7 separate regions of the Homo sapiens genome follow, and all the other regions are linked to region 1. Evidence: promoter capture Hi-C in 16 types of primary human blood cells and fetal thymus (Javierre and others, 2016). All regions are on one chromosome and are shown on one strand. Each heading gives the region's core, a stretch centred on a gene start or on the middle of the fragment in contact. The rest is flanking DNA. Distances are from core to core; before and after follow the strand shown. Region 1 holds the start of SETD3 (SET domain containing 3, actin N3(tau)-histidine methyltransferase). Region 2 overlaps AK7 (adenylate kinase 7). Region 3 overlaps PAPOLA (poly(A) polymerase alpha). Region 4 holds the start of ZNF839 (zinc finger protein 839). Region 5 overlaps LINC02299 (long intergenic non-protein coding RNA 2299). Region 6 overlaps VRK1 (VRK serine/threonine kinase 1). Region 7 overlaps VRK1 (VRK serine/threonine kinase 1).

The links. The method cuts DNA at HindIII sites, captures the fragments that hold promoters and counts their contacts. A CHiCAGO score of 5 or more calls a contact.
Region 2: a fragment that was not itself captured here is called in contact with the fragment with the promoter of SETD3 in region 1 in 4 of 17 cell types (naive CD8 T cells, total CD4 T cells, erythroblasts and 1 more); the score reaches 10.0 in naive CD8 T cells.
Region 3: a contact is called between a fragment that was not itself captured here and the fragment with the promoter of SETD3 in region 1, in 13 of 17 cell types (naive CD4 T cells, naive CD8 T cells, fetal thymus and 10 more). The highest score is 21.5, in naive CD4 T cells.
Region 4: a contact is called between the fragment with the promoter of ZNF839 here and the fragment with the promoter of SETD3 in region 1, in 1 of 17 cell types (fetal thymus). The highest score is 5.3, in fetal thymus.
Region 5: a contact is called between a fragment that was not itself captured here and the fragment with the promoter of SETD3 in region 1, in 7 of 17 cell types (total CD4 T cells, naive CD8 T cells, M1 macrophages and 4 more). The highest score is 6.9, in total CD4 T cells.
Region 6: a fragment that was not itself captured here is called in contact with the fragment with the promoter of SETD3 in region 1 in 3 of 17 cell types (naive CD8 T cells, total CD4 T cells and naive CD4 T cells); the score reaches 10.9 in naive CD8 T cells.
Region 7: a fragment that was not itself captured here is called in contact with the fragment with the promoter of SETD3 in region 1 in 1 of 17 cell types (fetal thymus); the score reaches 8.8 in fetal thymus.

Annotation. Positions count from the first base shown.
Region 1 is chr14:99,478,767-99,482,530 of GRCh38, reverse strand. It overlaps SETD3 (SET domain containing 3, actin N3(tau)-histidine methyltransferase), which reads left to right and starts at 1,672. Exons shown (of 13, transcript NM_032233.3): 1 at 1,672-1,803. CCNK (cyclin K) reads right to left here and starts at 1,122. Exons shown (of 11, transcript NM_001099402.2): 1 at 1,052-1,122. RefSeq lists enhancers at 862-1,231, 2,040-2,541 and silencers at 1,422-1,881, 1,992-2,191. The HindIII fragment of the contact is 7,554 bases long and covers 1-3,510 here.
Region 2 is chr14:96,488,476-96,492,239 of GRCh38, reverse strand. It overlaps AK7 (adenylate kinase 7), which reads right to left. Exons shown (of 18, transcript NM_152327.5): 18 at 2,813-3,764. Among named protein-coding and RNA genes, the nearest start is that of PAPOLA-DT, 12 kb to the left of the region's middle. The HindIII fragment of the contact is 3,884 bases long and covers 153-3,764 here.
Region 3 is chr14:96,507,845-96,511,608 of GRCh38, reverse strand. The region is part of intron 1 of PAPOLA (poly(A) polymerase alpha); the gene reads right to left. Among named protein-coding and RNA genes, the nearest start is that of PAPOLA, 7.3 kb to the right of the region's middle. The HindIII fragment of the contact is 6,374 bases long and covers 1-3,764 here.
Region 4 is chr14:102,318,030-102,321,793 of GRCh38, reverse strand. ZNF839 (zinc finger protein 839) reads right to left here and starts at 2,048. Exons shown (of 8, transcript NM_018335.6): 1 at 1,741-2,048. The coding sequence starts at 2,028. RefSeq lists an enhancer at 1,429-1,538 and silencers at 1,639-1,828, 1,889-1,988. The HindIII fragment of the contact is 5,518 bases long and covers 1-3,764 here.
Region 5 is chr14:96,782,802-96,786,565 of GRCh38, reverse strand. The region is part of intron 3 of LINC02299 (long intergenic non-protein coding RNA 2299); the gene reads right to left. Among named protein-coding and RNA genes, the nearest start is that of VRK1, 13 kb to the left of the region's middle. The HindIII fragment of the contact is 3,415 bases long and covers 107-3,521 here.
Region 6 is chr14:96,805,736-96,809,499 of GRCh38, reverse strand. The region is part of intron 1 of VRK1 (VRK serine/threonine kinase 1); the gene reads right to left. Among named protein-coding and RNA genes, the nearest start is that of VRK1, 10 kb to the right of the region's middle. The HindIII fragment of the contact is 2,700 bases long and covers 315-3,014 here.
Region 7 is chr14:96,824,201-96,827,964 of GRCh38, reverse strand. All of the region lies in intron 1 of VRK1 (VRK serine/threonine kinase 1), which reads right to left. Among named protein-coding and RNA genes, the nearest start is that of VRK1, 29 kb to the right of the region's middle. The HindIII fragment of the contact is 766 bases long and covers 1,650-2,415 here.

The DNA of each region.
Region 1 (3,764 bases), core at 423-2,922:
TCATAGTCAAGATTATTTAACAGGTAAGCATCCTAAGGGCACTTTAATCCAAATGTCTATCAATACTACTACCACTACCATCATCCATCCATTCTTTCATTCAGCAATACAGAGGGCTTATTAAACGTCAGGCAGTGTTCTAGGCGCTGAAAGCTCCTCGCTTTCATTCTAGCAACATCATTCATACAAACCTTTAGCGGGCACCTACAACTGCAAGGCATTGTGCTAGGTATCTGTAAACAGCGATTTAGATCGAGATACACAAACATCACCAAGTTTCTCTTAAAAACACAGAAGACCACCCTTAAGAAATGCTCTTAGAAATAGTTCCTAACCTCAGATGACTTAGCGAAAGCTCCGTTTAACTGGCAGTCTAAATTTAGGGAGCATTACCGAGCCTATCTTGGGCAGACAATCGTTTAGGAGCTGTCACATAACCTCTAGACTTACGCTCCAATTTTCTAAAGAACAATTTCTCTCATAACAAACCAAATCAACCACCAGGAGCGGGTCCGTAAAGACGATGTCTGGGCAAGAACGAAATCTAATCCCGGAAGTGCCTTTTCCTCATCTTAGCCGCACCCTCGTTACGTGGCTCTCCAAAACTCCAAAGTCGGAGTACCCTAGACATGGAACAACCTCCAAAAAGTTTCAGGCCTAGCCAAGGTTGGGACTAATACGCCGCGAAATAATCGGGGAGATATGAGAAGTCTGTGGCTGTGAGACTGTGCGCGGTTAACACCGCTGCCCCTTTTGCCCAACCCCTAGAAAGTTCCCCAACTCTGACTGCCCCCCAGTGCGAGGGCCGCTACCAGTTCTAGGGTGAGTCCGGCCTCCCTGCCCCGCCCCGGCGCCTCAGACCCTCTCTACACGCCCGCCCCACAACCCCGCGTCGCCCGCAAAGTTCAATGTGTACCGGAGGTTAGCGGAGGGAGGCAGAATCCGGAAAGAGAGACTCCGCCAGTGGATAGCGGCGGTTGGCCATAACCTACTCCGACCTCCAGATACGCGGGAGGTGGGCGGCGCTGCCCTCAGTCGGTGGGTCACTCACCCCTCGCTTCAGGCAAGCCCCTCAGCGACGTCTCTCCTTGCCGACTGCGGCCATCTTGTATATGGAATGTCGGGGACCTACGTCATCACGCTGCGTCCTGAGACGCCACCAAGCGACCGGAGGGGCGGAGAGAGTAGGATGCCTGTCAACCAATGGGAAGAAAGCAGAGCTCTCAAAAGAGGAACGAGCCGCCGCTCTCCTCCCCGCCCGCCCCGCGGGTCAGTGGCTGCTGCTTACAGAGGGAGGAGCCAGCCACAGGGCCCATCCCGTCGGTCCCGCCCCTCGGGGCGAAAAGGCATTCTGGAGCAACCGAACCTGCTAACGGAACTTGGGCGCGTAGGCGGGGCCCGGGTCGAGATTCGTCCAATCAAAGCTCTGGCGGGGGCGAACGCAGCCAGTTGCGACATCGTGGTTGGCGGCGGCTGAGCCGGCCGCTCTTGCCCCCGGGAGCTGCCAGCCCACTGGCTGGGGAGGACCCCGAACGGAACGCCGGCTGGGTGGCGGGGCGGGGCCGCGCCCATGCGTCCGAAGCGTGGGCCAATGAACGGCGGCGGCTGCGGCCCGGGGGCGGGGTCCGGGGCGGGAGGAGAAGCGTTGGGCCGCGGTCGCGGGGCCGTCTCAGGCTGCCGTCCCGCCCCTCCCGTCCGGCCGCCGCCGCCGCCACCGCCGCCACCGCCTGGGGGTTGGTTGAGGCGGACGGCGGGGTCCGGGCCGGAGTACGTCGTTCCCGCTGCGCTAGGGGAAGCGGGCAGGTGAGTGCTGGCGGCGGTCTCTGCGCCCGCGCGGCCCGCGGGGGAAACTCGCGCCGCGTCTCCGAGCTCTGCGAGGCCGTCCCTCGCCCTGGCCAGCGCCCCTCGGCCGAAGTCCGGCCCGCGCCCCCGCCAGGGTCCCCGCCGGCCGCTGTGGCCCCGGGGCTTGAAGGGGCAGGTGTGCGCTCGGGGGCCAGGGCGAGGAGGGCCCGGCGGGGTCGGAGGGCGCCGGTCGGCCTCTGCCCGGGCGCCCTGCGGGGCGAGAGGCGCGCGCTCGCCGCTGCCCTGTCCCCTCTGGCGCCCACGCTCCCGGGCCCCGCGCCACCCGGTCTCGAGGTGGTGCCAGGTGCAGGCAGCGCTCTCCCCGAGCTTGCCCCGCTGTCCCCGGCCCTCGCGCCTGCTCTCGGGTGGGGCCCGGGCCCCTCGCGCTAGTCGGCTCGGCTCTGCGCGCGGCCGGGTCGCGCTCCCATTTCCTTCCTTCCTCCCGTCACCCCGCTGCTCGGGGAAGGCTGTGCGGTTTTATGTTCCTCTCTGCGAGTTCTCGGTGCCCACCAGGGTGCCCGGGGACCAGCCCCCGCCTCCTCCCGCGCCGTCCAGTTAGGAAGACGGACGTAGGAAATAGGTCGTCTTTCTTCCCACGCGCCCCTGGCCGTGCTCCACACGCGCAGTGCCCTACTAGGGAGAGGCAATTCGGTGCTTTAGAGTTTGTCATTCCGGCGTTAACTCTTCCTCCTCGTGGCTCCAGCCCGGCGATGCAACTCTTGTCTTTTCCCGGTCTCCACTTGGGAAAAGGAGCTGACAGTGACGCGCGCCCCTGGCTGCGGGGCTCACCCCTGCCCGGCCGGTGTTGGGAGGAGGGCATTTCAGTGTTGCAAAGGCATTCGCGGGTTAGGACCACTCGGACCGTGTTATTTTGCTTTTCTAAATAAATAAGGTGATGTTTCAAAAGCAAAAATACTTTTAAAGTATGCTGACAAATCAATTTTGCTTTTAAGAATCCTCGAAGAGTTACCCCATCTTCGTAGCCTGATTGTGGTGCTGATGAGGCCACTATAAATGCGTTTGTCAGAACTCAGAACCGGACACTGAAAAGTGTGAATTTTATCTTATGTAAAATATACCTCTCCCTCTCCCGTTTTTCTTCTTGAAATGACCTTGCCAGTATTTCAAAACTGAACTAACCAGTAATAATCTCGGAGAAGTGTTTATTATTTTAAGCGAATACATTTAACCCAAGAATATAGCAAAATAAAGCAGTCTTCCTCTCCACTGTTAAAATTTGCCAAGACTTGCTTGAACCTTGCTGTATGTACTGTGTTTATACGGGCTACCATGCGTGAAAGTCCAGCAGTACTGGATTAGTCCCAAGGGCTGCCGTGATTGATACTTTGGTGAAATTCCAACAGTTTACCGAGGAGTTTTTCTTCGGCCTAAGAAAGTAGTTTGCAAAGCCAAGTTCTCAAACAGCTACAGAACCTCTTTATTGGGACCCCAGACAACCTTGGATTTTAGCCTTCTGCTACCCCTTTCCTGTCTGCCCTCCAAGTGATTGTAAGTTAATATCTGAAATGGAACTGTAGTCTGAAGGAGTAAAATGGTTGCTTCTCCAGTGTGCTAACATCTCAGTGCTTTTTTTTCCTGGAATTGGAGTGGTGTTGGATTTGAAGATTAGAACATCTTATGTCTGTATGTACGGTTATAGCGAAAGCTTCTCGTAAGAGCACAGTGACTGTCAGTAAGAAAGTGATGGCTGCTGCGCTGCTCTTCCGTGCCGTGGACATTTAGGCCACATTTTAAATGATAATTAAGCTTTTGCTTTAGAAGCCACTGGATAATGAGAAAAATATGGAGGTGATATTTTTCCTATTTAAAGCTTAACCACTGGACAACTGTTTTGGTTTTGAGAGTTCTGATAAACGGTCACAACAGCCTCCTTGGAACACAGTACTCTCCTGCCTGGAGGA
Region 2 (3,764 bases), core at 845-3,344, 3.0 Mb after region 1:
AGCAAGTTACTCAGAAGATCTAGCTAAAATCATTTAAGAAGGTGGCTGCACTAAACAACATTTTCAACATAGCGAAAACAGCCTTATATTGGAAGAAGATGCCATCTAGGACTTTCCTACCTAAAGAGAAGTCAATGCTAAGCTTCAAAGCTTCAAAAGACAGACTGACTTTCTTGTTAGAAACTAATGTAGCTGGTGACTTTAAGTTGAAGCCAATTGTCTATTTACCATTCCCAAAACCTTAGGGCCCTTAAGAATATAGCTAAATCTGTTCTGCCTGTGCTCTCTTAAGGGAACAATGAAGTCTGGATGACAACATGTCTATTTACAGCATGGTTTACTGAAATTTTTTTTTAAGAGACAGAGTCTCAGTATGTTGCCCAGGCTGGAGTGCAGTAGTGATTCACAGATGTGATCATTGCACATCACAGCCTCAAATTCCTGGGCTCAAGCACTACCCTGCTTCAGCCACCTGACTAGCTGGGACTACAGGCATGAACCGCTGTGCAATGGCTTGGTTTACTGAATAGTTTAAGCCCACTGTTAGGAACTACTGCTCAGAAAAAAAAAAAAAAAATGATTCCTTTCAAAATATTACTGCTCATTGACAATGCATGTAGTCACCCAAGAGCTCTGATGGAGATGTATAAAGAAATTAATGTTTTCATGTTATTAACACAACATTCTGCAGCCCATGAATCAAGGAGTAATTTTGACTTTCAAGTCTTATTATTTAAGAAATACATTTCATAAAGCTATAGGTGGCATGGATAGTGATTCCTCTGATAGATATAGGCGAAGTAAATTGAAAACTTTCCAGAAAGGATTCACCATTCTATATGCCATTAAGAACATTTCTGATTCATGGGAGGAGGTCAAAATGACAACATCAACAGGAGTTTGAAAGAGGTTGATTCCAGCCCTCTTGGATGACTTTGAAGTGATTAAGACTTCAATGGATAAAGTAACTGCAGATGTGATGGAAATAGAAAGAGAACTAGAATTAGAAGTGACGACAAAAGATGTGACTGAATTGCTGCAATCTCGTGATAAAACATTAAACAGATGAGAAGTTGCTTCTTATAGATGAGCAAAGAGAGTGGTTTCTTGAGATGGAATCTACTAGTGAAGACACTGTGAACACTGTTGAAATGTACAACAAAGGATTTAGAATATTTAATAAACTTAGTTGATAAAGCAGTATCAGGATTTGAGAAGATTGACTCAAACTTTGAAAAAGTACTAATGTGGGTAAAATGCCATCAAACAACGTGACATGCTACAGAGAAATTTTTCTTTAAGAGTCCATCAATGTGGCAAACTTCACTGCTGTCTTTTTTTTTTTTTTTTTTTTTTTTAGATGGAGTCTCACTCTGTCACCCAGGCTGAAGTGCAGTGGCACAATCTCGGCTCACTGCAACCTCCACCCCCTGGGTTCAAGTGATTTTCCTGCCTCATCCTCCCAAGTAGCTGGGATTACAGGCACACGCCACCACGCCCAACTAATTTTTGTATTTTTAGTAGAGATGGGGTTTCACCATGTTGGCCAGGCTAGTCTCAAACTCCTGACCTCAGGTGATCCGCTTGCCTCAGCCTCCCAAAGTGCTGGGATTACAGGCATGAGCCTACTGTGCCCAGCCCATTGCTGTCTTATTTTAAGAAATTGCCATAGCTACCCCAACCTTCAGCAGCCACCACCCTGATCAGTCGTCAGCCATCAGAATTGAGGCAAGACCCTCTACCAACAAAAAGATTACAACTCACCGAAGGCTCCGGTTATTGTTAGCATTTTTTAGCAATAATTTTTTTTTTTTCTTGAGAAGGAGTCCCACTCTCTCGCCCAGGCTGGAGTGCAGTGGCACGATCTCGGCTCACTGCAAGCTCCGCCTCCCGGGTTCATGCCATTCTCCTGCCTCAGCCTCCTGAGTAGCTGGGACTACAGGCACCTGCCACCACGCCTGGCTAATTTTTCTGTATTTTTAGTAGAAACGGGGTTTCACCGTGTTAGCCAGGATGGTCTCGATCTCCTGACCTCGTGATCTGCCCACCTCGGTCTCCCGAAGTGCTGGGATTACAGGCATGAAGCAATAAAGTATTTTTAAATTAAGATAGGTACCTTGTTTTTTAGACATAATGCTATTGCACAGTTAACAGATAGTGTAAAATATAGTGGAAAAATAACATATGCACTAGGAAACAAAAAAATTGGGGTGACTTGCTTTATTACAATATTAGCTTTATTGTGGGGGTCTGGAGCCAAACCCTTAATATCTATGAGGTATGCCTGTGTATTTCTCCAGAGAAGACATCGAAATGGAAGCAAGTGCATTAAAAGATTCTTAGTCACAATATGATGCCACGTCACACCCACTATGATCACCATTAAAAAAATAAAAACACAGAAAATAACAAGTGTTGGTGAGGATGCAGAAAACTGGAATCCCTCATACACTGCTGGTGGGAATGTCAAATGGTGCAGCCACTGTGGAAAACAGTGTGGCAGTTCCTCAATAAGTTGAGCATAGGATGACCATATGACAGCAGTTCCACTCCTAGGTATCTAGCCAACAGAACTGACAACCTGTGTTCAAATAAGAGCTTGCACACAAATGTTCATGCCAGTTGTAGTCACAGTAGCCAAAAGGTGGAAACAACCCAAATGTCCATGAACAAATGAACAATTAAACAAAATGTGGTATGTTCATACAATGGAATAGTATTCAGCTATGAAAAGGAATGAAGTACTAACACATTGTATGACATAGATGAACCTCGAAAACATTTTGCTTAGTGAAAGAAGCCAGACACGAAAGACCACCCATTATATGGTTTTATTTATAATAGGTAAATCCATAGAGACAGAAAGCAGATTCGTGGTTGCCTGGAACTGGGGGGAGGGAATAATGGAGCGTGACTGCCTAATAGGTGCTGGGTTTCCATTTGGGGTGATGAGAAAGTTCTGGACTAGATAGTGGTGGCTGCAGATCATTGTGAATGAACTTAGTGCCACTGAATTATACACTTTAAAATGGTTACAGTGGTCAATTTTATGTTACATGTATTTTAGCACAAATAAAAAGTCGGGCAGTTATATTAGGTTACATTATTTAAAGAGATAAAATACATATGCCATTAAACCTAAACTAATTTCTCATTTAGGGTAATTCTAGGAATCTTATGGGATTTTTAGAACTGGAAAAGACTATAGGATTGATAACTTATGCCTATGTTATAAAGTGTGTTGAAAATATTTAGCAACTTCTCACTTATCACAAAGATTGGAATTATCCTGTTATGCAGATTTCTCCGCCTAAAGGTTTACAGTTCTCTCCGATTCATTGTCTGGGATCCTGACCCTGAACTCAAAGCAACCTTTCCCTAACCATTGCTTCATTTAAAAAAAAAAAAAAAAAAAGCCACCTTACAGGCACCAATCTTGTCTGATTTACTGTGAGTCAACAGGCATAAATCACTTCAATTTATTTCCATTTCTAATAACATTGTTATTGGGGCGATAACAAGTCATGTAAATTAGCCTACATGTTAGAATAATACATAGTCTACAATATATAGTCTGATTTTCTTCATGCTATAAATACCTATAAACATTAGTGTACAGAAGCGGTATATTTAGATCTGACTAAAGAATAAAATATTAAATCAGTATTTGTCTCATGAGCTATGCACAAATGTCTTTATCAATTTACATTTCAAATATAGTTTTAATGACATAGTCATGTCATATAGCTTTTAATAGAGATTCT
Region 3 (3,764 bases), core at 588-3,087, 3.0 Mb after region 1:
TGCAAAGTAGAAGTTTGGGAAAAAAACCATTAAAGAAACAAAGATAAAATCATGACTATGCCAGAAGGTGTACACAGTAAATGATCGGAAAGGAGAGGCGTAATCTAGGCAGACGACTAACACACAAAAGGACAGAACATCATATTTCCATTGGTGTTTTCCTTAAATAGTTAATGTTTAAGTACTTTGCATCTCAATTTAATTTTTTTTAATAGAGTCAGGATCTCACTATGTTGCCCAGGCTGGTGTCGAACGCCTGGGCTCAAGCAATCCTCCCACCTTGACCTCCCAAAGTGCTGGGATTACGGGCATGAGCCACCACAGCCCGCCTGTGTCTCAATTTATACAAAACTCATCAGGCACTACTGATTAATCCCCACCTAGTGATATTAGGCATTTGGAACAAGTTGTGGCCCATGATATTAACAGAGTCAACTGCCCCAATTTATAGCTACTACTTAACAGAAAACACTTTATTATTTGCATGATAGAGTTAAAACTGAAAGCCAAACTTGCTAAATATTCTTCTTTGAAACCAATCAGATAAACTACAGTTAACTTATTTAAAGTAACAATTCATCACAGTAGAATTTGCTGTTTAAAGGTCTTAACCTTAATGTGCTCATTCAAAGGACATGAACAGAAAAGATACAAGGGATCTCTCTAAAGTATCTCAATGTGCATTAAATATTAATTATTAGCCAAAATAATACAATCTCCTTTTTCACAAGGTATACGGCATGATAGTAGCTTACAGGCAAGATTATCGCCAAAATAATCTATTTGCTAAGAAATTAAAACGATGGTTAACTGGCCCACCGTAAGGTGTTCTGTGTAAGTGGTACTAAAAATATTTAGATCCCACTATATTCTTAAAAACGTACTGCAGGTGGGCCATCCAGCCAATATTTAGTAAAGCAGCAGCAGAGGCTCAAAGATGATGTTAATAGTTTGTTTATGCTCAAGGGGAATAAAGTATGTATGATAAAGCCCAAGGCCAAACTGAAAATTCAAGGTTGCTTATGCAGAGAAAGGGTACTTGCTGTTCAATTACTACAATGGCCAAGTTATTTTTCCTCACTTCCAAAGGGTACTTCCAACTGCCCCTTTGCGCACAAGCGCACGCGCGCGTGTGTGTTGTGTCCCTCTCTCTCATATGGCTAGGAGAAACTTAAAAAAAAAAAAAAAAGCCAAATTGTACACTGCTACATCAACTTGCCAAGTACAACTTGAAAATGAAAGAAATGTAAATTTAATAAAGTATGAAACAGGACCTGAAAAAGTACGAAAGAGTGTGAAAATGTATCAGAAAATAGTCAAGATTATAGTAAGTCATAGTATTACAGACACTAATTTCAGGAAATGTAATTTAAATGTTTCTAATGATCAAAATGACAAACACTATTCTTGATCAACCTCAAAATTATAAAAACTGCCGTAAAATCCAAGAATCCAATTTCTGGACAAAATATAGAGGGAATAAAAATTTGAAAAATAATTCTGTAACAAAAGAGGAAGAAAGAAATCTAACAGAATGCCTTTATTTTTTCTTTCCCAAATCCTTAGGTTTCCACAAATGAGATTGCTATACAGTTCAGCAGGCCTACATACAATCCAAAGATTAAAAAAAAAAAAAAAAAAAAGCAACTCCCACAAAAGGTACTGGCCACAACAAAGCGGCGTCTAAGTGGCAAATCTGTGCATGGCTTTAAATAAGAATATATATGCAAATAAAGCCACTGAAAGTAGTCGTGTGCCACGTTAACAGAATTCTTCAGTCAATGACAGACCACACATATAACAGTGGTCCCATAACAGCATAATACCGTATTTTTACTATTCCTTTTGTGTTTACATACATTTAGATACACAAATGCTTCCTAATGTGTTACAAGTGCCTACAGTATTCGGTACAGTAACATGCTGCCACAGGTTTATAGCCTAGGAGCAACAGGCCATATCATTGGTGCATAGGCCTAGGTGCATAGCAGGCTATACCATTTAGGTTTGTGTTAAGTACACTGTTCCCACAATAAAATCTGAAAAATAACACATTTTTACAGAATATATCCAATCATTAAGCAATGCACAAGATCTCAGGTTCTATAGTATGTTACATTCTGTGTATACTACAAGTATACACTATATGTTACTTTTGTTTATATACTTTTGTATACATTTTTATTATGTAAATACTTTGAGATTTACATGTTATACACACAAAAAAAATTGAGCTTGAAAATTAATTCTACTTGAAACTATACAGAGATTCCAACTGGCCAGGCATGGTGGCATGAGCCACCTGTAATCTCGGCAATTTGGGAGGCCAAGGTGGGATTGCTTGAGCCCGGGAGTTTGAGAGCAGCCTGGGCAACGTGGCAAAACCCTGTCACAGTAAAAAATACAAAAATTGGCCACGTATGGTGGTGCGTGCCTGTAGTCCCAGATACTTGGGAGGCTGAGGTGGGAGGATCCCTTGAGCCTGGGAGGTCAAGCCTGCAGTGACCCATGATCACACCACTGCATTCCAGCCTGGGCAACAGTGAGTTCCTGTCTCAAAAATAAATAAAGACTCCAACTGAGCTAACCACACATGGTTCCCTACAGTGTCCACAGGAGATGGTATAGTGTACTGGAATGACAATGCAACACAGAATCCAGAGCTGATTTAAGCCCCAATCTACAATTTAGTACCTTTATGACCTTGGTCAGGTATTCTTTTGAGCCTCAACTTTAACCAACTTTTAGGGGAACCAATTACCTCCTATAATGTTGCTGCTTTGTAAATCATAAACTGGCATTGTCCAATTATTTAAAAGCTGCTAGGTAATTAGAACCCTGAACATACAGAATAAAAGAGACACACACACCCTCCCAAAATGAGAACTAGCTAAGAAGCCAAATGGTCTCATTTTACCTGAAAGAAGCTAGCTTTATAAACTTGCCTAGATAAAACTGAAGATGAAATTTAATTGTAATGTTAACCTAAAGTTGACTTAGTTACCCAAGAATAGAATGTTCTGATGAGCCAAAACATTTTCAAAGTTGTTATCAAGCCAGAACTGGCTTCTGCCTTAAGAAGGTGAGGAAAACAATCAGGGATAGGAACTGAGTAGGCTCATAAATTTACTCAACTCCAATACCTTGCCTTCCAACTTCTCTACCAAAAAATATGGACTGAAAACATGTTTAAGGCAGAACACCACATCTCAAAACCATAATCAACATTTACTGAGCAGCAATTCACTACAAAAACTCCAAATTTTAAAATCTGAGAATCAAAATCTCCCACAGTTCTGTTATCTTTCCTAAAGGTTATCTACTATATTGTTTTTCACTGACAACAACAAAAAAATTTTATTTAAATCACAGACGGTTGGGGTGGGCTGAGGTGCAGTGTTCAGAAAACCACCAGACAGTGTTCAGAAAACCACCAGAGGCCAGGCGTGGTGGGCCTGTAATCCCAGCACTTTGGGAGGCCAAGGCAGGCAGATCACCTGAGGTCAGGAGTTCGAGACCAACCTGGCCAATACAGGGAAACTCTGTCTCTACTAAAAATACAAAAATTAGCTGGACGTGGTGGCACGGGCCTATAATCTCAGCTACTCGGTAGGCTGAGGCAGGAGAATCACTTGAACCTGGGATGCAGGGGTTGCAGTGAGCCGAGCTAGCACCACTACACTCCAGCCTGGGCAACAGAGCAAGACTCCATCTCAAGAAAAACGAAAAACAAAAAAACACCAGAGGTGCTGCATGGACAGCTC
Region 4 (3,764 bases), core at 799-3,298, 2.8 Mb before region 1:
AGATACCACTTCTTCAACAAAGCTGCTTCTGATGTCCTCAGCCAGGAACAATCTCCCTTTCTCTAAATACATTCAGTTCTTTTTCACTATCTTTAGCTTTCTGGCCTTGACTAGAAGTTATCTGGGTCTTGTTTCATCTCCTGTTAGTTCATAAACTACTGAGGGGCAAAGTACGCATCCGGTTTGCCTTTGTGGCCTCCATGACACAGCTGGGGCTGAAAGAGTATTAAAAGAATGTGCTGCAAAGGTATATTATTGCAGGTAGAATTTATATCGTCTCCATTAGATTAGCTACAAAATACAATCCCATCATGCTGCCTAAGCTCGAATAAGTTTGCTTTTGCTTTACGAAAAATATGTCATTTTTGGATTCCAAACCCAAAAAGCTGTGGCCATATTCAGCAGGGTATGGTGAGGAGTACAGGGGCTAGGGAGAGCAGCCACACCTGAGGGACCTTGGGCAAAGCCACGCAACCTCCCTGAGCTTGTTTCCCACCTGCAAAATGCCGGTACAAAAACACTGCTGAAAACTGAGCGGCCCCGCACAGCGCCGGGCGCAGAGCAGAGGCTTTGCAGATAGCTGCCCCCAGATGGCACCTTGCAGCCTTCTGACCCAGACCAAAGTCCAAAAAGGTTGACTTACCCAAGGTCACACCTCTAGATAGTGATAGTGTGGCATCTGGACAGAATCACACTGGTCTTCCTAAACCTTAGCAAGACAACTCTCCAGTCTTGATGATTAACTGGATACAACCCTAAGCAGCTAACATCAGTCAAAAAAACTCAACGAGTGAAGGTTCCTGATTCTATTCCCTAACCCGTTTCTTCTAGTGGAAAAAGCTGTCTTCTTTTGGCAATTTTGGGGTGAGACTAATTTTGTTTACAACCCCAGCGCTGAAATGGGGTGGAATTTTACAGATGCCGTGTAGGCCCTCTGGCTTCAGGCGCTATGCTTCACCCTCCGGAGTTGGGCGACCGTCTTCTAGTTATCACCCCCCTAGCAACCAAAAGGTGTGTGGCCCAGGAAATAAACCCACTGGGAAAGGATGTTTTGTAGTATACAGAGTGCTTTCACATATTCCAAACATTGTGTATCAGGCACTGTGCTGGGTACTGCGGTTACAAATCAGTCACTATCACCCAGGATGTTAAGTCCTGCAGCGAACTAGTGTATTGTGCTTGACTTTGTTCCAAGCCTGGGCCTTGGCACCTTACAACTGAAAAGCTAAGTTGGTTCCTTTTAATTCATTTATGTTTCAGCTCCAGTGTCTGGCCTACGGGACCACCCACTCTAAAGCAGCCCCCGTCAATCCCAGAACCTGCCTTATGTTCGTTCTTCAGCAAGTGTGTTCAAGGCTTCACCTCCTGCACATAGTGGGGAGTGCTGGGAACACGGTCTCTAAGTGCTCCACAAAGGCTGAACCAGCGGTGAAAGGCCTGTAAGAAGAGCTAGGGAGCACGCAAAAGCCCCCAGCAGGGCTGTGAAGGCAGAGAAGGCACGAGGGCGTTCCAGGCACAGGGCCCAGCGTGAGCAACCGCTCCTAGAGTGAGGCTCCTGGGGTGAAAATGCCAGGGTGGTGACAGGTGGGGGCCGAACGCCGTCCCTAAGAAGCTCAGCCTGGGGACGCCCTGAGTCTTAACCCGGGCGGATACTGGCCTCCCCGGACAAGCAGCTACCCCGCCGCGGGGCGTCGGCCCCCTTCGGGCCTCAGTTTCCCCACGTCCCTCCCGACGCCTCACCTGGGGCGGGAGCAGGCGCGGCAGGCGCGGGGGCTCGGTGCCCCGGCCCCGCTGCAGGGCGGCCTGTTGGGCCGCGTCCCGCAGCCGCCGCGCCGCGTCCCGCAGCACGAAGGGGGGCGGCGGCGGCGGCGGCTGCGCCTTCGTCACCTGCTCCAGGACCTGCCGCAGCTGCTCGGGGCCCAGCGGGGCCACACGTGCGACGCTGCCGCTCTGGCCCGGAGGAGCCGGGCCGCCGCCGCCGCCGCCATCCTCGCTGCCGCCCCCAGCCTCCGGCTCCGCATCCGCCATGGCGGCCGAGGCGGGGACTCGAACCCGGGTCGCTGAGCGACGGCGTCTCCAATGTACGTCACCTAGGAGAGGGGCGGGCTACGAGTGCCTCGCAGGCCAAGACACCTAGGAAGGCGACCGTGTCTGGCCGGGAAAGTCGTGGAGTGCCCCGCCCCAGCCGACAACCGCCGCGGCTCTTAGGGCTGATCAGCAGAGCGGACCCCCCTTATTTTCCTTATTGCCTGTCACGGATGTGTTTAAGACTCACCTTCTCTGGGAGCTGTCCCGGATCTCCCAGGGGGAGGTCTTCGGGGTTTCAGAGCCCCTGGCCCAAAAGTTACCACAATATCCAAGTGTTCTGACGTCATCATGCATCCGAATCAGCGGAGGATGCTGTCTGGAGATGCAGAGTACTGTGCCCACCCCTAAACATTTGGATTTATACATCTGGGAGGGGACCACAGTTTGAATTGTTAACGAGAGTGTTTCCCAAATTTTTGCCTTGTCACCGTAGCTTCTCTCTACCCACCCACCCAGATTGGGTGCACCTTGAAGGGAGAGATGATATATTACACAATCGGTGCCCAGCACAGGCCCTGCCCAGAACACAACGCACGCTCAGGGCATGAATGATGGATGGATGAATATGAATAAACGAATGAGTGAACGAATGAATGAACCCACCCTCTCTCTATCCATCCAGCTCCACTGCCCCATCTTCCTCAGCCTGATCGCCTCTCCTTCTTACGGTTGAGGCTCTGTGCGCCCTCCGAATCTTGTAGCTGCAGGTGTGTACACATGTCCCAGCTCCTTTCCCCAGGGAGAGCAGGAGGTCCACTGGTCCACAAACCCTTCTTAAGCACCTGGTGGGTGAACCGCTGTTTCCGCCCTGGGGGGTATACAGTCTAGGTGCCGACCCCCAAGGAGGAAACTTCCCAAGGGGGAAGGAGGAAACTGGCATTTGCAGCACAGTATGATGAGCGCCGAAGCCGGTAAAGTAAGGCTGGCGGCCTGGGTGGCGTCAGAGAAGGTTCTGGAAGATCACCACCATCCTCATCAATACTCACATTGCATTCACGATGATCCCTTCCGTGTTATTTTTTAATGGTGAATTTTATATTATGGGTATCTTACCACAATTTTTTTTTTTTTTTGAGACAAGATCTCACTCTGTCACCCAGGCTGGAGTGCAGTGGCACAATCTCAGCTCACCGCAACCTCCATCGCCTGGGTTCATGCGGTTCTCCTGCCTCAGCCTCTTGAGTAGCTGGGATTACAGGCGTCCGCCACCATGCCTGGCTAATTTTTGTATTTTTAGTAGAGACGGGGTTTCATCATGTTGGTAAGGCTGGTCTTGAAACCCTGACCTTAGGTGATCCGCCCGCCTCGGCCTTCCCAAGTGCTGAGATTACAGGTGTGAGCCACCACACCCGACCAGATTTCAGGAATTCACATGCCTTCTGCTCAAAATAATTTTCATGCCACCGTGGCATATTCTAAACCCCTTCAAGCTCAGGAAACTTGAGGGCAGCAACCTCCACCGATTCCTCCATGCTGTGTCCCTGCATCTAACAACGTGCCTGGCACGACTATTAAAAGATGTGACATCCATCCTGTGTACAGATGTCTATTTTAAGTGTCAGCTGCCCCAGGCTCTCCTAACTTTGCTTATAATAGCAGCAGCGCCATCGGCTGGCATTTATTGAGAACTTTTACTACACCCTGGGCACATACCAAGGTCTGTAGATGTTGAGCTG
Region 5 (3,764 bases), core at 565-3,064, 2.7 Mb after region 1:
CTGTGAATGGCTGGCCTCAGCAGAGTTGCCCCAAAATTTAGATCTGGAGCCAAAGTCTAATGAAGCTCAATTGGCCACAGGTCAACCCATATTCTCCAATCAAGCTTTACCTATAATAAGGCTAGCATTTTGATATCATCTGTGTGGTTCTATGCCTATACTTCCATTTATTTCCAAACTCAGTGGGAAAGAAAGAATGTTATTCAATCACCAGTAGTTATGACAGTGGTGAGAGGGAGGAAATGAATGAGCAAAGAGGAGAAATAGCCAACCTAGTGCAGGGAAGGGGCTGGTGGGTAAGGCTGGACCCTTGAGTGAGGTTCTCAAAAAGGAGTAGATATGACTCAAGCAAATAGGGATGGGAAGGGCATTCTTGGCAGGGAGAAGGGCATATGCAAAGGCATGGAAGTATGAAAGAAGCTCAGTGCATTTGAGAAATTGCTACCCTCATCTCTTGACTCTCCAGGGATGGCACCTGCTTAGCTCCGGCCTCTCTCTTTGGATGGATCTCTGTCTTCACTTCCTCATCTCCAGCCATACGTTAACCGTCTCTAACGCAGCATCTACCTCCTTCACACCACCAAAAGCATCCTTGATAAGGCCACCCATGACCACGTGGTACTAATTACAATTACCATTGTTCAGTTTTTATCTCACCAGGGCTCTTTCAACATTCACCACAATTGACCATTCTCTTCTTCTTCAAGTACTTTTTTCTCTTGGCTTCTATAACACTGCTTTGTCCTGATTTCTGTTTTTCTCTACGAAAACTCCTTATGCTAACATTTCTTCTTTGGCTCCAATTTCTAAGTGTTCAAGGCCCTTTTCTCTATCTTTATGTTAGAATTTTTTGAAGAGATGGAATCTTGTTCTATTGCCCAGGCTGGTCTCGAACTCCTAGGCTCAAGTGATCCTCCTGCCTCTGCCTCCCAAATAACTGAGATGACAGGTGTCAGCCACCGCGCCCAGCTTATGTTTGGATCTTTATGTTCAAATCTACGTGGATATCAGGGGGTGGAGATGAAAACTTAGGAATTATTAACATCTAGTTGCCTGCTGGAGATGGGAGTGGATCATTCATGAGGACGGATGAGCTACCCTAAGAAGTGAGTGCAGATTTAAAAAAAATCCTGCTAGGCGCGGTGGCTCACGCCTGTAATCCCAGCACTTTGGGAGGCCGAGGTGGGTGGATCACGAGGTCAGGAGGTTGAGACCATCCTGGCTAAGACGGTGAAACCCCAACTCTACTAAAAACACAAAAAATTAGCCGAGCGTGGTGGCAGGCACCTGTAGTCCCAGCTACTCAGGAGGCTGAGGCAGGAGAATGGCGTGAACCCGGGAGGCGGAACTTGCAGTGAGCTGAGATCGCGCCACTGCACTCCAGCCTGGGCGACAGAGAGTGAGACTCCGTCTCCAAAAAAAAAAAAAAAAAAAAAAAAAAAAAAAAAATCAGAGTCAGTGGTAATGGTGAAGTAGCTTCCATCATACTAACCTCCCACAGGACAGCAGCCAAAAGCAGGCAGAAACCAAAGGGGATTTGACCCTTGAAAGAAGGAGCCACACTGGGGGAGCGCCTTGGTTATTTGACTTTTCTACTGAGGACACTTCCCACTCTGCATGCCACAGGGTGGCTAGAACTCAAGAAGAAAACCAGCTGGGTGCGGTGGCTCACGCCTGTAATCCCAGCACTTTGGGAGGCTGAGGAGGGCGGATCATGAGGTCAGGAATTCGAGACCAGCCTGGCCAACAGGGTGAAACCCCGTCTCTACTAAAGACACAAAAAATTAGCCGAGCATGGTGGTGCGAGCCTGTAATCCCAGCTACTCGGGAGGCCAAGCAAGAGAATAGCTTGAACCAGGAGGCAGAGGTTGCAGTGAGCTGAGATTGCGCCATTGCACTCCAGCCTGGGCGATAGGGTGAGGCTCCATCTCAAAAAAAAAAAAAAAAAAAAAAAAAAAAAGAGGAAAACCACAGTTTTATTACCCTGAGGAGTCAGAGGATGGGGTTCTGAACTGCTAGAGCAATTGGAAACTGAGGGAAGGCAGACATCCCACAATGGCGGTAGCCAAGAGGGGCAGCCCTAAAACCCCCATATATACACCCCAAAATCACAGGCTGATTAGTGAATTGCACATGCATGAACAAGATTTCAAGGAGCCCAAGGGGGAAACAATAATTGGAAGGCTAAAAGAACAGTGCACAGATTTCAGCAACTGCCCACTGTTGGGGGAGACCAAGTTTGGGGTTTGAGTCCTGCCAAGTTAGAGGAGCTTAATAAACATTTCAGGCTGTCCATTGAAACCCTGCAAAAAGACCATGACTGAAGGTGAAAGGCTATGTCCAAGTTCTAAGGAACTAAGAAACAGAGATGCAATGATGTCAAGTAGTTGTTTTAGGCACATAGTTAATGAGTTTAGGGCTGGGATTCAAACCCACCTGGTCGGGCCTGTCGAAGTTGTCAGAATCAAAATGAAGTCATGGATATTAAGGAAATCCTAACAAAGACAGCTGGGGAAGGCCATAAAGAGAAGTTCCTCTTGCTTGTATGTCTTTGACTAAAAGCTATCACGAAAGACTGCAAAAACCACAATCTTGCGCAAAGGCCATTGCAGAAAAAATCCTTCTGCAAGGACATCTTCCCAGCAATTGCCTGTCTAACCTCAGATTGGCATCACCCTTGTTATTGATCTTTGTAGCCAAGGATAATTATTTCCAAACAGTTGTGTAATCCTCCTCATTTTTCTTCTTTAAAAACCTTTGTCTTCCTTTACCTTCCTGAGTATGCACGTAGTTTACCAGAGCATGCATTTCCCCATTCCAATGCTCTGTTCCCAAATAAAGTGCTTTTCTTTTAGCAAGCCTCCCTCTGGTCGTGATTTGGGATGACAGACCCTATAGCCCATGTCCTTGCCACTGCCCTCCACTGCCTCTGTCTCTGTGCCCTGCGTTTTTCCTTTAAAGCACCCATCACCAAATTCAATATCCAAATACAATTGCATATTTGGTGGTTTGTCTTCTGCACTAGGCGAAGATTCCTGGGCAGAGAGCTCACCTAGCCCCTGGCACACCCACGAAATATTTGTTGAATGAATAAATGAATCATTTGGTATGGCTGATTTACCAATGCCTGAGCGTGTATAATGTATTAATATCTCTCCTGGTAGCAAAAATATATCATTGAAAACGCATCCATGCCATATGATTTCACCCCCTTGTGATCCTGGAGTGAATTAAATCACCAATAATCACTCTCGTTTACAGCTGGGTTTATTTGTACATATCTGTTACTGACTATTTTTAAGCATGATCAGGAATTCCTAAGCGTAGTATGAATGGCTCGGTATTTTGATTAATCAGCTCAGTAGGGAAAATTTCTATGGGTAATCAGACTGAACATAAAGATAGGGCACATGCTGAGAATGAATGAAGGGAGGGAAAAGAGGGAGAGAGAAGGACAGAGGTAAGAATTCTTTTGTAGCCAGAAAAGCAGTTTGAGTCAGTGCCACTGAACATGTAAAGCTTCTTTTTTTTTTTTTTTTTTAGACGGTGTTTCGCTCTTGTTGCCCAACCTGGAGTGCAATGGCACGATCTTGGCTCACTGCAACCGCCACCTCCCAGGTTCAAGCAATTTTCCTGCCTCAGCCTCCCAGGTAGCTGGGACTACAGGCATGCACCATCATGCCTGGCTGATTGTTTTTATTTTTAGTAGAGACGAGGTTTCACCATGTTGGCCAGGCTGGTCTCGAACTCCTGACCTCAAGTTA
Region 6 (3,764 bases), core at 415-2,914, 2.7 Mb after region 1:
AACCAAAATGAATATAAAAGTATGCCAAAAGATACATACATATACATAAGTATATGATTATAGCAACATTGTTCATAATTGCCTCAAAATAGAAACTATTCAAATACCTAAAATGGAATGAATAAATGAATTTTGCTATGTAATTTGTGGTAGTTTTTAAAAATGACCACAAATTCTTTGACACACCTCTCATAAAGACATGAGGTCTATGTCCCCTCCCCTTCAATCCAGGCAGGCTGTGTCTTTGTCAACCAATAGAGTATGGTGGAGGTGAGATTATATGACTTCTGAAGATAAGCCACTCTCAGGAAGCTTCCTCTGGACACTCAGCCAACATGCTGTGAAAAGCCAAAACCTCCTGACCCCACATGTAGGTTTGGTCAATAGTATCAGATGATCCCAGTCTTCTAGACGTTCTAGTCAAGGTACTCAGCCAACATGCTGTGAAAAGCCAAAACCTCCTGACCCCACATGTAGGTTTGGTCAACAGTATCAGATGATCCCAGTCTTCTAGACGTTCTAGTCAAGGTACCATACAGGAAAGTGGAGAAGCCTCTAAATGATTCTAGACCCCAAGCATTGTAGGGCAGTGATAAGCCATAACCACCAAATTCCCAATCCACAGAATCCATGAGCATAATAAAATGGTTGTTATTTTACACTAGTAAGTTTGGAGTGGTGTGTTACGCAATAACCAATAATCAAAACTAGTGTGTTATGCAGGGATAGATAACCACAACTACAGAGCTATTTTTAAAAATAACAAACTACATGCAACAACATGAATGAATCTCAGACACAACATCGAGTAAAAGAAGTCAAGCAAAAAAAAAAAAAAAAAGTCCAGAGGGCATTATTCCATTTACACATGAGTTCAAAACCAGGTAAAACTATAGTTATGTAAGTCAGAATCGTGTTTACCTTGGGTGGGAGTAACTACTGTCTGCAAGATATCCCCACATAATCTGGGCTTCTGAGGGCTAGAAAATGAGTATCTTGATCTGGGTAGTAGTGATTACAGGGTGTTCACTTTGTAAAACTTTAAAAATAATTGAGCTTGATGCTTCTGCACCTTTTTGTTACACTTCAAAAAAATTTTTTTAATCAATGGAGCTTGGTAACCCAAAGAGGCAAGGGTATGAGGGAGAAATAAAGGATGACTTCCAAGTCTTCAGGAATGACTGACTAGGCAGTTCCATAAACTGAACAATTAAACAAAAACAGGGGCAGAAAGCAGGGACCATGTCCTATTCATTTTTTATTCAAGTATCTACCACAGTACTTAACACAGAGTCACTCCAGCATTACAAGATACTCCTATTATTTTCATCCCAACTTTTTGACCACCACTTCTTGGTCTCCTTTCTTACTTCCTTTCTGCCCAGCTGCCTCTTAATATTGGTATTACCCAGGCTTCCATACTCAATCTCTTTTCAATCACATGCACACACACACACACACACACACACACACACACACACAGAGGGAGAGAGAGAGGGAGAGAGGGAGAGAGGGAGAGAGACAGAGAGAGAGGGAGGGAGAGACAGAGAGAGAGACAGAGAAAGAGAGAGACAGAGAGAGTGACTTCTTTCTCTTGTATTTCCAATCTCAGTGCATAGCATCATCACATACATGTTCTTTTAGGCTAGAAACTGCCAATTAAACCAAGAACTAGGATTCCAAAATATCTTTAAAAGTTGCAGTTAGTTAAATTCAATAAAAAGAAATTTAACAAGACAAACATAAGCTCCCATGGTTGGACCCCAAAACTAATGCATACAAACAGGATGAAAAGACATAGCTTAGATAGATGCAGGGATTTTATTCAACTTTATGTTCAATGTATGATGTGGTCACAAAAGGATATAGCTAATATTAATAAAATTATGTAGAAGAAGGAAGGTGATATTCTTCCCTTAACTCACAGAAGAAAAGTGTTATATCTAGAACAAGAGATACAACTCTATTTCTCACGTATCAAGCCATGTCTGGAGCACAGAATTCAATTCAAAGCACTACAGTTTAAAATGAAATTTTTTTAAAAAGAGGAAAGCCACCAATGTGGTAAACTGACATGAAACCATGCCATGTAAGGAATAGCTAATGAACTGGAGATGTTTCAAATCAAAAAGACTGAGAATACTTGATGACTATTTTCACATATTTGAAAGGATGTTACGTGGAAGAGGGATTCAGCCTGTTCCACATTTCTCCAAAAGGCAGAAGTGAGTAGAAGAAATTAAGTAGACTTCCACTCAATGTAAGAAAGAATTTTCTAATGGTCAAAACTTTAATAAAAATAGGATAGGCTGTCTCTAGAGCAGTGGTTCTCAACCAGAGATGATTTTGTCTCTGTAGCCAGAGATGCCACTAAACATCCCACAGTGCAGAGAACAAACAGTGACCCATGTAAAATGTCAACAGTCCCATGGTTGAGAAATTCTGCCCTAGAGATAGTGAGTTCTCTGTCGTTGGAGGCATTTCATCATAGACCAGACCATGTGATGATGTCACAAGAATGGTGGGCCAGGAATGGTGGCTTGTCATTCCAGCTACTCAGGAGGAGGATCATTTGCTCCCAGGAAATCAAGGTGGCAGTGAGCTATGATCGCACCACTGCACTCCAGCCTGGTTGACAGAGCGAGAGGAAGGGAAGGAGGGAAGGAAGGGAGGGAGGGAGGGAGGGGAATGATGGGAAGTGAGAGTGAATTGAAAAAAGTTTTGTTTCAGATACCTCTCCAGAGAAAAATACCTTCAGGTATATCAAAGTGAAAATGATGATGATGACAAACATTTATTGAACACTTACTGTGGGCCAGACATTACACCAAATGACTCATGTATACAGTTTGCAGTTAATTCAACAACTCTAAGATAGGTATTATTTTACCTTGATTTGATGCTAAATTGAATTGCTCTAATGTCACACAGCAGTCAATATTTGAACTAGATCTACCTGACCCAATTTTATATGTCACTGTCCAAAGCATAAACATCAAATGACTTTCAAAGCTTTCACACTCTGGAAAAGAAATGAACAAGCACATATTCCACAAGTATCAGGACAATGTCTGAACAGGTTTGTACTCACTGTAAACCTAGCTGGCTAGGAGAAAGAGGAAAGGATTATTTGAAGTAGTCCTGTGATGAAGAAGAGAACAATTATCCTGATTGTCCCCAATTGCCTACTTCTGTAAGAGCCAAGAAGCTCTTATATACCCATGGAGGATGGGATTAATGATGACATCCTTTTATCCATAGGCGTGAAAGCTCAGAATGGACAGACGTTTGAACATCCCCGACTGGGAATCCTGCCCTTAACAAATACACTAGATGCAGATACATGGTTTCTTGGCTGCCTATACTCACGCCCATCTGTCAGGATGGCAGTATGCCTGCTCACATGTTGGTCAAACTGTCACTAGGGCATAGGTGCCAAGCAATGATAGTTTTAAATGGGCAGCTTGCATAGCACTATAAGAGCTTGCTCTTCTGCAGAAAAAAAAAAAAAAAAAGAAAAATTCTCTGTGATAATACTGAAGGGCTGCAAATCACAAGTGAAATATTCTTGGTCAATCTCAACATTTCAGTGGAAAAAAAGATCTAGACAAGTAGAAAAGAATCAGAATAAGGAAGTTAAATCAAACAGAACAGGTACTTTAAAAACATGTGAGATGTTGCATGAAAGCTTTTAACACTGCCCTTCTTTCATTAACATGTGTCAATGGTAACCTCTTACACTGTAAAATCCTTGCCTCAACAAG
Region 7 (3,764 bases), core at 783-3,282, 2.7 Mb after region 1:
GGTTCCTAGGGATCTGGTAGCATTCTATATCCCAATCTTGGTGTTTAAACAATTGGTTCATGTTATAGAAAGTAATCAAGAAGTATACTTATTATTTCATCCTGTTTATTTATGTAAAATTAACACAGTAAGTAAGGTACACAAATCACAAGTGTGTGATAACAGTCAGTGTCCATTCAGGAGCTAGAAAACAAACAATCAATTAAAACAAGAAAATGTAACATAAATAAAAAATTATTAATTTGTAAAAAGTTGTCAAGTGCTAATAGATGTAAAAGACAATTTGAAGGAATATGGAACTAGCAAATATAGGGAGCAGTTACTGTCTCCAAGGCTAAGGGAGAGTGCCCAAGAAAGGAACACTTCACTGGACAGACTGTGGCAGTGACCCACTGAGCGGTAGGGTAGTTCTCTGTAGGGCCAGTGAGCTACAGCTTATCCACAGGAATCTGCTGCCCACGAGATACTGGTGGGAGCAAGAAGCTGCCTACCAGGGTGCTAATGAAGCTTACAGGAGAGTAAGTAGAGCTGACAGCCACACCTTAAGAGATTAAGAAAAACAAACAAACGAACAAAAAAACAAGCACATGGCAACAAGAGAAGCACTTTCTCTGCTAAGTCTTGCAGTATCCCTTCCTCACCTTCTACTGACAAAATCTAACACTGTCCAGGAAAAGAAAAAATATTTAAAAGGTCTGGCTCGAGTATATAAATAGAGCAAAAAGGGGTGAATTTGGAGTTGAGAGGCAATAAATTACTAACTTGCACAAAGTAAACTGACAAAATTTTACAAACGTACATACACTTGTGCGACCACCAGACAGAACATTTTCATCACACCATAAAGTTCCCTAGTGCCCCTGCCTGCCAACACCTATTCCTGTTCTCCCAGACAAAGGCTTATTAATGTGCCTCTCAGGGTGTGCCCCTTTCTTTAGAGAACACAGTTCTGCCAGCTTTCCTGACATCTGTGTCTCAGGTTCCCTTTCAGCATCCTCCCATACCCTGTTTGACCTTCACTGAATTTGGCAGCTCCTTATTTTCTAGTTCAGGGCTACAGAAGCTTCTCAGTTTCTCAGAATATGAAATCACTGTTTCTCAATCTCCTTGTTGCTTTTCAGGCAATTTCTTAAAAGAGGAATTATTTAAAACCAGAAGTCCCTGCTCAAAGAAATAAAATAATCACAAGTATTTGCTTCAGTAAGTTAGTGAGTTTTCTGAAGAACTTAAAATACTAATTAGAATTAAACAATCACTTTAGTACATTATAGGTTTCTTCTAATAATGAAACCGATGCTTGCATTAAGGTTTCTATTAATGAATATACCGAAAGGCACAAACTTTAACAAAATTAAATCTTTCCACATAATTTCAGCCCCTCTGACTCTATGCAAGTCTACTTTTATAGTAGCCAATGCAACAGAGAGGTTTCAAAGAAAAAAAAGTTTAGCATTACATAATCTGACCACTTCTTTTCCTCTGATATTAAATGAAATGCAGATGCAACTGAAAAGCACATCAAGATGCAAATCAATACTGCCCTTTGCTGAAATCACTCATTGGTATATTCCATATTAGCATATTCACCAAAATTTAATTGTAAACAGAGTAATTATGGTACTAAAGTTATTAAATACACAAAGCAAGCTTGGAACTATACATATTCAAATAGAATTTCAGTGGCAGATCAACTTTTATATCTGCAACAATACCCTAATTAATAGTCAGCTCTGATGATAAAATGGTCCTCTGTTTTTCAGATAACATTCCAAAAAAAGTTCTGCTATGAATATTAAAATAAAGTTTTGTGAATAGATTTTTAAAAATTTCAATAGCTATATTTATCACAATATGGTACTGTATTTAGACAACTGGCATTCTTCAAGTCCTGGATTCAAATTTGGAATTTTTTTTTAACCTTCTGCTGAAGAGAGGAAAAAGGCTTGAATGAATCACAACAATGACACTTACACTTAATGAGCTCTATGAATTCATCATACACAAACTGGAAAATTACAATGCTGAATAAAGCTCGTTATATACTGAATGACTACTCATAAATTTTCCCCAAAATAGTTCTGCATGTAAACTCCTTTAGGGGGTCATGTATTTTTATGAAATTTTCTTTAAAGTCATAAACTTCTCTGATATGTTTTACACTGTATAGAGACACTCTGATTCAAGGATAATTCTGGACAAACTGGACTCCACCATTCTATTAACATGGAACCAACATATTTTTATCTCCATTCTTCCCAGCACAAAGCCTTTTCTCTCATTTAACCTCTCCTTATACATTGATTGACATTTTCCCCATACCTAAAGACCTATCTCTTCTGAAGTCAGATATGACCTGAAGTTTCAGTACTGTTTGTACCTCTTATTGCATGTGACAAATAACTTTCCCTATAAGCTTATAAGCTCCTCGTATATGAGAAATGTCTTAGTCACAATACATTGTAGTTAGCAGGAATTCACTAAATCCATAAAATTAAACAGCAAAAAAGTTTAGTATTTTTCCCCAACTACCAGATATCTAACTTTATGTTTAATATACATCACCCAACTGCAAAGGACAATGTCATTCCTCAAAAGTCCAGCAACCACCCTCTACAATGACTATGTCAAACTCTATTTATTCTTCCTCAAAACTCTAATTCCCCTTCCTAAGCCATAATTATCAACAGATGACCTACTCTAGTTTAGAGAGAAAACAGAAACTTCAGATGGGAATTCCCTATCTTTCTAAGAGCCACACCTACAAACCACCTGCACCCACTTCAAGCCAATCCTAGCTTCCTTCTCTCCTATCACATTGAAAGAAACTATCCTCCTCCTATCAAACATCAAGTCCTTCACCTTTGCTTTGGATCCCATCCCCTCCAACCTTCTCAAGACTTACACTATTAATTAATCCTTCTCTAATATATTCAATGTCTCCCTCAACTAGATCCTTCCCATCAGCTATTAAAAATGCTTATGGCTCTGCCATTTTAAAAAATTAATGTTTTTGGCCGGGTGCGGTGGCTCACACCTGTAATCTCAGCACTTTGGGAGGCCGAGGCGGGTGGATCACGAGGTCAGGAGATCGAGACCATCCTGGCTAACATGGTGAAATCCCGTCTCTACTAAAAATACAAAAAATAAGCCAGGCGTGGTGGTGGATGCCTGTAGTCCCAGCTACTCGGGAGACTGAGGCAGGAGAATGGTGTGAACCCAGGAGGCAGAGCTTGCAGTGAGCCGAGACGGCGCCACTGCACTCCAGGCTGGGCGACAGAGGGAAAAAAAAAAAAAAAAAATTAATGTTTTTAATCCCCCTCTGCTATCTCTGCTATCATCCTTTCTTTTCCCTTTCAATGCCAAATGTCTGTACTTGCCATTTCAATAATCGTCTGTACTTGCCAATATTTCCTTTCACCTACTTATCCAACTCACTCCGAGATCCGCCTTCATGATTCCTCTCTAATAACCCTTGCTGAGGTCACCAGTGACTTCCATGCTATGAAATCTAGCTGACACTGAATCATCTCATTTGCCTGCCCAGAAGCACTCAACACTGCTCATTCTTTCTTTCTTGAAACATTCTCTTCCTTTTGCTTTCAAAATACAGTAGTATCCTGGATTCCAGTCTACCATTTAGGCTACTCACAGTCCTAGGCAATTTGAGGAATACAGTAAATTCTTTTTTCAAGATGAAATGAGCTTTCATTCAGGGAGCTTGTTCCACTTTATCATATACAGTTTTCCAGGGTTTTATCATGTTA